Regions from separate parts of the Homo sapiens genome. Here regions 1, 2 and 3 are each linked to region 4. The links are contacts of gene promoters, found by promoter capture Hi-C in blood cells and fetal thymus (Javierre and others, 2016). All regions are on one chromosome and are shown on one strand. Each heading gives the region's core, a stretch centred on a gene start or on the middle of the fragment in contact. The rest is flanking DNA. Distances are from core to core; before and after follow the strand shown. Region 1 overlaps EMC1 (ER membrane protein complex subunit 1). Region 2 overlaps LOC124903867 (a long non-coding RNA gene). Region 3 overlaps TMCO4 (transmembrane and coiled-coil domains 4). Region 4 holds the start of CAPZB (capping actin protein of muscle Z-line subunit beta).

Region 1 (2,832 bases), core at 1-2,500, 250 kb after region 4:
AAAACTAGTGCCTTCCTTAGTCCAAAGGAAATATGGGGACATAAATGAGAGCTTCCCCATAGATAGTAAGAACAAGCAGCATGGGATTTAAGATTGACCTGTGCCTGCGTTGGAGGTAGGGAGAGTTCTGTTTTCAGCTGTAGATGCAACTGAGGCCTCCCTCTGCTCTTAAATGCCTGACCATTCTGCTCCAAAGTGGGGAGCACTTTCAACTCTAAGGCCAAGGGCCTTCCCTGGAGAGGTGACCCTCTGTAAGGCAGCTGGCTAGTACTGGTCCCATTTAGGAGCTGATGCCTTGCTTTTCCCCCAGACTGCCCTAGTGAGCTTTGCCACCACTGGGGAGAAGACGGTGGCTGCAGTCATGGCCTGTCGGAATGAAGTGGTGAGTATTGAGAACAACAGTCAGCACTTGGGATTTTCCTTCCTGGTCTCCACTAGGAACCCTGAAAATCAGAAGTCTGGGCACATTGACCTGGTCAGTTTGAACCCAGCGGGCAGGAGGCTGTTGAGAAGTGAGGTCTTGCCTCAACTATAGAGCTTTCTGCACACCCCATTTCTCCCCAGGAACGAGACCCTAATGTGATGACCTTACTTTCATATGGGGCTATTAAGGGTTGAATAGGCTTTGTGGGCAGGGGTGAGAAATGAGCTTTGTCTTCTCTCAAGTGCTAAGAAGACAAAAACAAAAGCTTCATTTCAGTGACTGGGAAGTGACCCTTTGGCTGAATTTTCTCCTGTCCTTCTCTTTCTCATAGCAGAAAAGTAGCAGTTCTGAAGATGGGTCAATGGGGAGCTTTTCGGAGAAGTCTAGTTCAAAGGTATGGTGTGGCACTGGGCAGTATGCCAGACCTAGAGACGCAGGAGGCCACCAAAGAGAGTTGGGGGAAGAGCTTTGGTTAGGAGCAGGTCCTAGAGTTCCCAGCTTCAAATGAGGTTTCCTAAGTACTGTAAATTAAATGATGTTTCTCTTAATCTCATTTTACCGGGAGATTAGGAGGTAGAATCCCTAGAGTCTGTTTCTAGCCACTTTCTCCTCTGGGCCTCAGCGTCCCCATTTCTTTTGGGATCCTGGCTGGCACAGTTGAGTAGTACTCTGTGCAGTTACCCTGTAGCAGAGGCATGAGCCCCTGGCTGGAGGCATAGGTTCCTGCTGTGGCTTCCATCTAAGCGTTTCCCTGCCTCCTGTCTTGCTCAGTCTTACCTTGCTCAGCCCTACCTCTCTCTCAGAAGTCTCTGCTACTCTGTACTGGCTTCCAAGACAAGTATGGTAGTTGTAATTTCATTTATTTACTCAGGCACCTTATTTCTGCCTTAGGATTTAGCTTGCTTTTCTCTTTTATTCTCCTTTGCATATATTTCCCCTTCTGGCCTGGCTCCTTCTCTAGGGTATTTGCCCCCAATCCTTGGACTTCCTTTGGTGGGCTTTGCTTTCGGGGGATACCTGTAGTTGACACGTGCTGTCTGTACTCCTAGGACTCTCTGGCTTGCTTCAATCAGACCTACACCATTAACCTATACCTCGTGGAGACAGGTCGGCGGCTGCTGGACACCACGATAACATTTAGCCTGGAACAGAGCGGCACTCGGCCTGAGCGGGTAAGGCAGAGCCTTTCTTTGCAGACTGTCCTGTGGGCTTCTCAGCACATGGCTTCCTTTCCTCAGGGCCAGGTCTTAGCCATGGGGCTTGGATTAGGCTCTCTAAACATGTGTTCTAGTGCTCTCTGAGCCACTGACTTGTTAGAAGTCACAGTAAAGGCGGGTATTATTTATGCCAGCTCATCATTGTGCACCAGGGACTGTTCTAAGCTTTTAACTTACACATTAATTGATTTAACCCTCCAAACACTCTCATGAAGCGGTTGTTCCTGACCTGGTTTTAAAATGATTCTGTGGCCTGGTGGGATCGAGTACCATAGCCAGAGTCACGGAGCCAGTAAGAGGTGTCACTGCGGTTCAGATTCAGGTCTAACCCCACAGCCTGGACTCCTCATCACTACCCAGTATTGCCTCTGTGTGCATCTGGTTGTGTTCCTCAGCTGCTTGGGCTGTGGCTTCTTCGTTTCTAAAGCGGAAAGTCTAATCCCGGCCTCCTGCTCACTTTGTGGGGTGTGATTAGAGCATGGATGAATGGCGTGGTACCCGTGGAGTACTCAGGTTCTTCCATGGAAAGGTCTGGGAGACCCCAGCATCATTATGTTGGCTCCTAAGAATATGTATCACTTACTGGCATCCAGATAATAGCTACATTGTTTAGACATCAAATAATGCCATGGCCTGTACCTCTGTTAAGTCCAGGCTTTGACTCCTGGGGTCTGGTGCTCTCAGAGGCATTTGGATCCTCACTGACTACACCGGTCTTGACTGTGGCTTATAGCTGTATATCCAGGTGTTCTTGAAGAAGGATGACTCAGTGGGCTACCGGGCTTTGGTGCAGACAGAGGATCATCTGCTACTTTTCCTGCAGCAGTTGGGTAAGTAGACCTCATTCAACCCATTTTTTTATTTCCCCAGGCCTTCCAATGTGTTCCAATCAGACTGTTTTTTGGGAGGCTGCAGGTTTCTGGAAGAGATTCAAGTGGAGTGTGCCCTGAGTGTTTCGTTCATAGCCAAATGTCACCTGCTTTTTTTTTTTTTTTTTTTTTTTTGAGATAGAGTCTTGCTCTCTTGCCCAGGCTGGAGTGCAGTGGCATGATCTCGGCCCACTGCAATCTCCACCTTTCGGATTCAAGCGATTCTCCTGCCTCAGCCTCCTGAGTAGCTGGGATTACAGGCGTGTGCCACCACGACCAGCTAATTTTTGTATTTTCAGTAGAGACAGGGTTTCCCCATGTT
Region 2 (3,295 bases), core at 1-2,500, 180 kb after region 4:
ATAGTATTTTGCAAATCACATATCTGTTAAGAATCTTGTATCTATTCTAGCTATAGGACTCTTACAACTTAATAAAAGAGAAAACCCACCTGGGTGCACTGGCTCACGCCTGTAATCCCAGCACTTTGGGAGGCCAGGCGGACGGATCACTTAAGCCCAGGAGTTCAAGACCAGCTTGGGCAACACAGCAAAACCCTGTCTCTACAAAAAATACCAAAATAATTAGTCGGGTATGGTGGCGGGCACCTGTGGTCCCAGCTAATCGAGAGGCAGAGGTGGGAGGATCTCTTGGGCCCAGGAGGTGGAGGCTGCAGTGAGCCAAAATCAGACCATTGCACTCCAGCCTGGGCAACAGAGCAAGACCCTACCTCAAAAAAGAAAAAAAAAAAAGAAAAGAAAGAAATCCCAATTAAACAATGGGCAAATTATTGGAATAGACCTTTTTCCAGAGGGCATACAGGTGGTCAGTAACCACATGGAAAGCTGCTCAAAATCAGTACTTATCAGGGAAAAGCAAATCAAAACCCCTTCAAATCTGCTAAGCACTAGGATCATCAGAGTCAATAAAATACAGAAAATAACAAGTGTTGAGGGTTTGGAGAAATGGGAGACTTAGGACACCGCCATTGAGACTGTAAAACGGTGCAACCATTTTGGAAAACATTCTGGCAGTTTTTCAAAAGATTAAGCATTTATATGACCCAGAAATTTCACTCCCTAGGTATACCTAGAAGAAATGAGGCTGGGCGCAGTGTCTCACGTCTGTAATCCTAGCACTTTGGGAGGCCGAGATGGGCAGATCACCTGAGGTCAGGAGTTCAAGACCAGCCTGGCCAACATGGTGAAACTCCATCTCTACTAAAAATACAAAAATTAGCCAGGCGTGGTGGCACACACCTGTAATCCCAACTACTTGGGAGGCTGAGGCAGGAGAAGCGCTTGAACCTGGGAGGCGGAGGTTGCTGTGAGCCGAAATCTTGCCGCAGCACTCCAGCCTGGGTGACAGAGTGAGACTCTGTCTCAAAAAAAAGAAAAAAAGAAATATATGTCCTTATTAAAAATTACGTGAATGTTATAGCAGCATTATTCATAATAGCCAGAAAGTGGAAACTGCCCAAATGTCAATCTTAATAGGTGAATGGATAAACAAAATATCTGTATGTACAATGGAACATTTTTCAAAAAAAAAAAGGAATTAAGTATGAAACATCTACAATGTGGATGAACCTTAAAAACATGTTAAGTGAAAGAAGCCAGTCACAAAAGGCCTCATATTGTATGATTCCATTTATATGAAGTATCTGGAATAAGCAAATCTATTAGACACAGAAAGTAGATGAGTGGTTGCCTAGGACTGAGAGGGAGTTTGGGAGGAAATGGAGATTCACTGCTACTGAGTACAGAGTTTCTTTTGGGGAGGTGATAAAAATGCTCTGAAATTGACTGTGGTGGTTGTACAATTCAGAATACACTAAACACCATTAAATTATACACTTTAAGTGGGTCAGTTGTATATAGTGCCTCAATAATATGTAATAAAACAATCAATTAGCTCAGAAATCTGTTAGAGCAGGGCTCAGCAGGGAAGCCTCATCTGTTCCTCAGTGTCTCAGAGGTGATCTAGCAGCTGGAGGCTAGGGTTGCCTGAAGACATTCACTCAAGCATGTGGCAGTTGCTGCTGAGGGCCAGCTGGAATATCAGCTGCTGTCATCAACCGGCACACACGTGACCTCTGCATGTGGCTTCCAAGGGAGCACATCCCAGGCAAACTAGGCAGAAGCCATGTGGCCTTTTATGTCCCAGCCTCAGAAGTCCATAACATCACTCTTGTGTCCTGGGAGGAGAGTCAAAGATACCTGTGCAAAGAGCACGTGAGAGAATGGAGTGGTTATCTTTGGAAAATAAACTGTAACACTTGGAGCAACAGTCCTGAGTGGAGAAGGTGAGCCCCGGGACCTGCCAGGAGACTGTGTCTTGACTATCCCCATCAGAGATGCATTTTCTGCTATGTCACATCCCATCCGTTAGAATCTTCCGGATACTATATCTCATAGTTGATGGTCTCTTGAATTCAGCAATTTCATATCTAAAGAGATTCTTGAAGACACCATGTTGTACACCTTAAATATATATACAATTTTTATTTGTTAATTAAAAAATAAATAAGTGAGGCCAGGCGCAGTGGGTCACGCCTGGAATCCCAGCACTTTGGGAGGCCGAGGCAGGTGGATCACGAGGTCAGGAGTTCAAGACCAGCCTGGCCAATATGGTGAAACCCCGTCTCTACTAAAAATACAAAAATTAGCCGGGCGAGGTAACAGGTGCCTGTAGTCCCAGCTACTCAGGAGGCTGAGGTGGAAGAATTGCTTGAACCCAGGAGGCCAAGGTTGCAGTGAGCTGAGATTGCGCCACTGCACTCCAGCCTGGGTGACAGAGCGAGACTCCGTCTCAAAAAAAAATAATAAGTAAGTGAGAAGGAACAAAAAAATCTAAAGAAGCAGAGCTGGATCTGGAGAGCATCTCATATATTTAATCATCCTCAAACTAAGGAAGCTGTTCTGTGCTGTATGAAAGACTGAAGGAGGAGGGGGCATCGATTTTTTATTTTATTTTATTTATTTTTTATTTATTATTATTTTTTTGAGACAGAGTCTCACTTTGTTGCCCAGGCTGGAGTGTAGTGGCATGATCTCGGCTCACTGCAAGCTCCGCCTCCCAGGTTCACACCATTCTCCTGCCTCAGCCTCCCGAGTAGCTGGGACTACAGGCACCCACCACCACACCCGGCTAATTTTTTTGTATTTTTAGTAGAGATGGGGTTTCACTGTGTTAGCCAGGATGGTCTCAATCTCCTGACCTCGTGATCCGCCTGCCTCGGCCTCCCAAAGTGCTGGGATTACAGGCGTGAGCCACCATGCCTGGCCGATTTTTTATTTTAACGTTTTGTTTTATCTTACTGTTTTTCCTTAGGTGAGAAAAATGTACCCTTCCATGCCTGTGCTTTCTAAATTTTGGGACTGATACAGATCCACAGAGGCCACACCTAAAATTAAATTATCGTTAGTGCTAAAACTTAATTGACTGTGTATATAACTGTGCAATTGCTGTTACTGATATAACTGTTTGGGGTTCATTCAACAGATTAAAGAAGCAAGGTCTTGCATTTAACACACAAACTAATGAGATACTGCTTTATACAAGAATTTTAAAAACACTGTCATATGGTTTAGTGTAGTTAATGTCATGCTTATGTCATATAACATAGCATGTTAGAGTTCTCTAGAGGGACAGAAC
Region 3 (2,908 bases), core at 1-2,500, 220 kb before region 4:
TAGGAAATTCTAGCCTGCTAGTTGTCCCTTGAATCAACAAAATCTGAAATGTTCACCTTCACAGGTGTGTGTGTTCTGGCTTTCATACACAATTTTGAAAGATGTCAGGTGTCAGAAGACATGTATTTTGGTTCAAGGTTTTATTTGATTGCAAAGGGAAGTGGGACAGGAGAGTAGGAGGGAAAATATAAGAATAACCAAATTCCACCATGCCACTTACTTACTGTGTGATCTTGGACAAATTACTTGGCGTGTCGGAGGCTAGGCTTCCCATCGTTAAATGGAAGTGGTCATGCTTACCTCCTAGGATTGTTGTGAAGAGTAAAGGAAATTAATTGATGTATGAAGCACTTAGTCCTGAGCCTACCCTGAAATAAACTGAGATGATGATGATAAAGAAGAGGAAGAGGAGGACGAGGATTAAGAAATGGAATTCCAGCCAGGTGCGATGGAATCCCAGCACTTTGGGAGGCTGAGGCAGGAAGATTGCTTGAGCTCAGGAGTTCGATACCCACCTGGGCAACATAGTGAGATCCCATCTCTACTAAAAATCCAAAAAAAAAAAAAATGGGGGCATGGTAACACACACCTGTAGTCCCAGTTACTTGGGACGCTGAGGCAGGAGGGTGGCTTGAGCCTGGGAGGTTGAGGCTGCAGTGAGCTATGATCACACCACTTGCACTCCATCCTGGGCAACAGAGCAAGACCTGGTCTCAAAATATAAAAAATAAAATAAATTTTTAAAAAATAGAATTCCAGGCTGGGCACGGTGGCTCACACCTGTAATCCTAGCACTTTGGGAGGCTGAAGCGGGCAGAACACCTGAGGTCGAGAATTCAAGACCAGCCTGACCAACATGGAGAAACCCCATCTGTACTAAAAATACAAAATTAACTGGGCATGGTGGCTGTAATCCCAGCTACTCGGGAGGCTGAGGCAGGAGAATCACGTGAACCCAGGAGGTGGAGGTTGCAGTGTACTGAGACCACGCCATTGCACTCCAGCCTGGGCAACAAGAGCGAGATTCTGTCTAAAAAAAAAAAAGAAAGAAAAGAAAAAAAAATAGAATTCCAGAGCTTTTTTTGTTTGTTTGTTTTTATACAAAAAAAAAACAAACAGAAACAAAAAAGCCTTGCAGCACAATCTCCGGTTTCATTCCCTGCCCCTGTGAAGTTAGGCCAACATTATTGCCCATGATGTTTGCAAGATAAAACCAAAGCCAAAGAGTTTGTCAATGTGCTCACAAAGATACATTTAAACATCCTGACCCTTGAGTCCCCAAATTCTTACTTGGCTGAAAATTATGTCTGGGCTGTCACTAGATATCAGCTGAAATGCAGAAGAGACTGTCACTCGGTCAGCTGGCTCTTTCATCTCCATGATAGCAGACAGCAGACATTACATTTGATGTGATTTATTTCCCTTCCATGGATTGTATCCACCAGTTGCTTTATTCTCAGACAAACCCAGCTTTAGTCCCCCTGGGGTGGGGGGAGGGGAGAAGGAGGGGAGGTCAGGCAGTGCAGATTAATTTTTAGGGTCCCCCCCCCCCGCCGGGATGTTAGTAATAGCCTTATCACTTTGCATGACCAAATAAAAGAGATGGGAATCAAAGAGGAGAGATGAAGGTTTAGTCATTCCCTTAAAGAATTCATCCCAAATCCTGGTATATGTCCAAACAGGCTCCTTTAAGCGATTCTTTCCAGTGTGAACCTCATTCCACTGCGGGGCTTGGGGGTACAGTCAAAGCCGCCCTTTCTCCTTTCTTGGTCCCCCCTCCCTTCTGTGGCCTCTCTCTACGTGTCTATCATGTGCACGTGTGTATCTTTGGAATGGATTTCATTTGTGTTAGTGCAGTTCATAGTGTTTCCTTCAAGGTCTTTTTACTGGACCCGCAGTCAGGAAATAAATTCCTCCTTGGTTTCTACCTTATCACTCGCTGCACACATGAACCCCCACCAGGAGGGAGAAAATCCTTCTTTTTTGCTTCTTGAACTTGTGATTCTTTGGTCTTTGCAGCCCAGCAGAATCTCTTTACTGACAGCGTGACAGGCATGTGGGAGTGAGAGGTGCTGCCTTCCCAGCTGTTTGATGAGATTTCTGAGTGGCAGCTAAAGGAGCAGGCCCTGGGATAACAGAAAGCTCTGTGAGGGTTTGCCTCACTTTAAGGAAGCTCACTGTGTGGAAAGGGGGAAATGACAAAGGTGAAGCTGGGACCTTCACCTGATTCCCGCTGGCAAAGGCCCCACACTGTCCGAAAGTGTTCTCTGTGGGGCCCTTTGGAAGGGCTGGCCCCGCTTTGTGCATTTTAAGAATGTTTAGTTTCACAAAAAACTTAATTTAAACACAGTTTTTGAGATCAAGGCTCTAGTGTGAGCTGAAGTTTGCTGCTGTGATGACGCTGTCCATTCTCAGCTCTTGGGTTTTTTTTTTTTTATTTATGTATTTTTTTTTTAAAAAGCTAAGATAATTTCCAGACTTTTAGGGGTACCAAGTGGTAAAGCACCGTCTCAGGAGTCCAGTGTGAGCTGCTGAAAACATGACAAGAGCAATTCACAAGATAGAAACAGAAATTATCTAAATTCTGGGGGTCTTTGACCTTTGAACTTTCTGTTTCCTCTTCTGAGGATGCTGTCTGGAAGCATTCAGAATGGTTCAGCATGTGACAGTACCATCGTAGGCTTCCCTACAATAGCCTCTAACAAAACTAGGCTGTCCCAAACCCCCAGAGTAGAATTGTTTACCCTTATACAAGTGATATGGTTTGGCTCTGTGTCCCCACCCAAATCTCATGTGGCGTTGTAATCCCGCTGTGTTGAAGGAGAGGCCTGGTGGGAGGCGATTGGTGATTGGATTATAGTGACAGATTTCCCCATGCTGTTCTCATGATAGTGAGTTCTCACGAGAT
Region 4 (2,951 bases), core at 39-2,538:
TCACAGATCGCCTAATTTGATTTAACCAAAGCAAACAGGCCACGGAGGCAGATATTGTTAGCAATCCAGATCTCTCCTGCTACCTAGACTAAGCTTAACAAATATTTGATTGAGAGAGAGAGAGAGAGATTGGGAGAGAGAAACTTGAGTCACTTTGTGGAGCGAGGAAGCCCTTCTGGGCTAATGGAATGGTTCTCTGTAGCACATTCAACAGTACTCATAACAGCTAGCATTTGTTGAACTTAATTTTTTTTCTTTTGAGACAGAGTCTTGCTCTGTCGCCAGGCTGGGGTGCAGTGGCGCGATCTTGGCTCACTGCAACCTCTGCCCCCGGGTTCAAACGATTCTCCTGCCTCAGCCTCCCGAGTAGCTGGGACTATAGGAGCGAACCACCACGCCCAGCTAATTTTTGTATTTTTAGTAGAAACGGGGTTTCACCATGTTGGCCAGGATGGTCTCGATCTCTTGACCTTGGCCCGCCTCGGCCTTCCAAAGTGCTGGGATTACAGGCGTGAGCCACCGCGGCCGACCTGTTGAACTTAATTTTCTAATCTCTACCTGTGTCATCCTCACAGATATTCTGTCTGCAGCTATACCGGCAGGGATCTTTATGTCTTATCTGTTATCTTCCGGTGCCTAAACAAGGCCTGGCACATAGTAGGTGCTGAATAAATGGCGTCAGCCCGAGGCTCCTCAATTCGTGCCCGGGCTCAGGTGCAGCGCGGCGCTCCAGATCCTGCCGTAGCGAGCGGCAGCGCTGGGCTCCTGCCCCGCTCCCGGCGCGCTCCCCCAGTGCTGGGTTGGGCTGGGTTGGGCTGGGCCGGGCCGGTCCGCGCTCGGCGGCAGTTCCGGGTGCGCCGCAGGAGTGAGCGCGTGCACGGGGTGGGGCGCGGAGGGCCGGTCCCCTCCCAGCCGCGGTGCCTTCCGCATCCCCGCCCGCGGGGACTGTGGGGTGCGGTTCCCTCGCCGCCACTCGCTGCTGCAGGCCCAGAGTCGGGGACTGGACCTCAGACAGCCAGGAGACCTTTCCGCCCCGGCCCGCAACCCGTGCCGGGGACTCCCGGCAGCCGCGCCGCGCAGCGCCGCGCCCCGCCCCGCCTCGCAGGCCCCGCCCCCGCACCCCGTCGGCGCCCGCCTCTCGCGCCGCTCTCCATACTTGGCGATCGCCGCAGCCCCGCGCGCTCATTGGCCGCGAGCTGGCGGCGTGGGGGGCGGGCCCGGGCCGGGCCGGGGCGGGGAAGGAAGGTGGCGGCGGCCCGGCGCGGGGGGAGGGGGGTGCTGACCCGGATGTTCACTCCTGGGCACCCGGGGAAGTGGAAGCGCCGGGCCCTGCTGCGGGGGGGAGAGCCACTGACGCCGGGACCGGGACCGCCGCCGCCGCCGCCACCATGGTAAAGGCCGCACGGCCCCCTCCCCGGCCCGGGGGCCCCTCCGGAGCTCGCGTCCCCCTCCCCCTGCCCATCCCTGGCCTGGGACGGGTGGCTTCCCGGGGTGGGGGAGGGGCGGGGTCCCGGACCCTGGGTGGACCCGGTCCCTCCCCGCCCAGGAGGGTGCCGCCGGCGCGGACGACTTGGGTGGCAGTGACCCTGCCCCCGCTCCCAGCCCCCGCCCTTGGCGCAAGCTGGAGTCCCACTCACTACCTCTGTGTTCAGGCTGGTCTCTCCCATAGCCCAGGCTAGACCCTCCCTCCCGAACCGTGTCCCCAGCCAGGCACCCCCTCGGTGACCCTGGCGTGGGCCCCCTTCCTCCCCCGGTCTAGGGCTAGGTCTGCTTTCCCCCGTCTCTCCGGCCCAGGCTAGGCCGTCGTTTCTCCCTGCCATGGCCCAGGCTAGGCCGCTGCCTCCCTCTGTCCCTCCCCCTTTGCCTTCTCCATGGCCTCAGGCTGGACCCCGGTCAGCCCCTTCTGCAGCGGCCTAGGTTTGCTTCCCCTCTTCTCCGTGGCCTCAGCCTGAATCTCCTCTTCTCTCTGTGAACTTAAATCTGGACCTCCTCTTCTCCGCCCATGGCCCCCGTCTGGACCTCACTGCCCCCTCCCCACCATGATCCCCTTCCCTGGACTTTTCGCCACTCCTAGCGTAACCTGCGTCAGCCCCGCTCGGTCCCCGCCCTGAGCCTCTCATCAGGGTCCTGCCCCCTGCCTGGTGCACGACCCAGGGTCCCCTTCCCTGTACCTGGGGCGCGCCTTCTTTGCAGCCTTTGGGGAGCGAGGGGAGCTCTCCATCAGGGATGGGGTGGTCCCGGTGCTGTGCCTTCTCAGTTGCCGCTTCTAGGGAGGCCGCCTAGGAGCCAGCGAGGGAAGGGCGGGCATCGGTGTGCCCAGAAGGCAGCGCGCTGCTCTGCGGGCCCTTCTCGAGGCTGCCGCCGTGGGTGCTGTGCGTGCGAAGCATTCTGCAGGGCAGGCCGGGGTCCACGGCGCCCGGGCCTGAGTGGGAGCCGAGGGGCGAGGATGGGTGGCCCACAGGACAAGGATGAACGCACAATCGCCCTTGTGAGGCCGTGGCCTTGGGGGGCCACCAGGCCCTGGATCCAGCATATGGCCTGGACACGATGCACCCAAGCAGGCGCAGCCTCCCCTTCCCTCTGAACTGTCAGCTTGCAAGGGTTGGAACTGCTGATTATGGAAGTCCCTCGGATCAGGTGAGCAGAACGCCTAGGGAGAGTGCTGGCTCCGCTCGTGGTGTTTGTTTTGGTAAAGAAGGCAGATGCTATCCAGACTTTTGAGGAACCTGGGGTTTCACATAGGCCCCCACAGATAGACCTGCCCTCCTGCCACTTGACCCTTCTGCAGGACAGGCCCAGCACTTAGGTTGGAAGGGCCAGAGAACTTCTTCCTGACAGGATCAAGGGATTTTTGGAGCATGTTTGTATGTGGACTTTGGGCCTCAAAGTGTTTTGAGGACCATGGTTCCTTGTTTAGTCAAGGGATGTTGCTGCTGAACGAGGGTGAGTAG

What was found. The method cuts DNA at HindIII sites, captures the fragments that hold promoters and counts their contacts. A CHiCAGO score of 5 or more calls a contact.
Region 1: a fragment that was not itself captured here is called in contact with the fragment with the promoter of CAPZB in region 4 in 1 of 17 cell types (neutrophils); the score reaches 5.6 in neutrophils.
Region 2: a fragment that was not itself captured here is called in contact with the fragment with the promoter of CAPZB in region 4 in 1 of 17 cell types (neutrophils); the score reaches 5.6 in neutrophils.
Region 3: a fragment that was not itself captured here is called in contact with the fragment with the promoter of CAPZB in region 4 in 2 of 17 cell types (total CD4 T cells and non-activated CD4 T cells); the score reaches 6.5 in total CD4 T cells.

What each region holds. Positions count from the first base shown.
Region 1 is chr1:19,236,781-19,239,612 of GRCh38, reverse strand. It overlaps EMC1 (ER membrane protein complex subunit 1), which reads left to right. Exons shown (of 23, transcript NM_015047.3): 9 at 311-382; 10 at 756-818; 11 at 1,474-1,596; 12 at 2,375-2,471. The region is part of intron 1 of EMC1-AS1 (EMC1 antisense RNA 1); the gene reads right to left. Among named protein-coding and RNA genes, the nearest start is that of EMC1, 13 kb to the left of the region's middle. The HindIII fragment of the contact is 1,117 bases long and covers 692-1,808 here.
Region 2 is chr1:19,298,784-19,302,078 of GRCh38, reverse strand. LOC124903867 (a long non-coding RNA gene) reads right to left here. Exons shown (of 3, transcript XR_007065521.1): 2 at 1-201. Among named protein-coding and RNA genes, the nearest start is that of AKR7A3, 12 kb to the right of the region's middle. The HindIII fragment of the contact is 8,280 bases long and covers 1-3,295 here.
Region 3 is chr1:19,707,931-19,710,838 of GRCh38, reverse strand. All of the region lies in intron 13 of TMCO4 (transmembrane and coiled-coil domains 4), which reads left to right. Among named protein-coding and RNA genes, the nearest start is that of HTR6, 45 kb to the right of the region's middle. The HindIII fragment of the contact is 3,454 bases long and covers 1-2,908 here.
Region 4 is chr1:19,483,876-19,486,826 of GRCh38, reverse strand. CAPZB (capping actin protein of muscle Z-line subunit beta) reads left to right here and starts at 1,288. Exons shown (of 9, transcript NM_004930.5): 1 at 1,288-1,391. The coding sequence starts at 1,389. It also overlaps a transcript of LOC105376819 not described here. RefSeq lists silencers at 712-1,441, 1,472-1,581 and enhancers at 1,486-1,994, 1,995-2,502, 2,503-2,951. The HindIII fragment of the contact is 2,873 bases long and covers 96-2,951 here.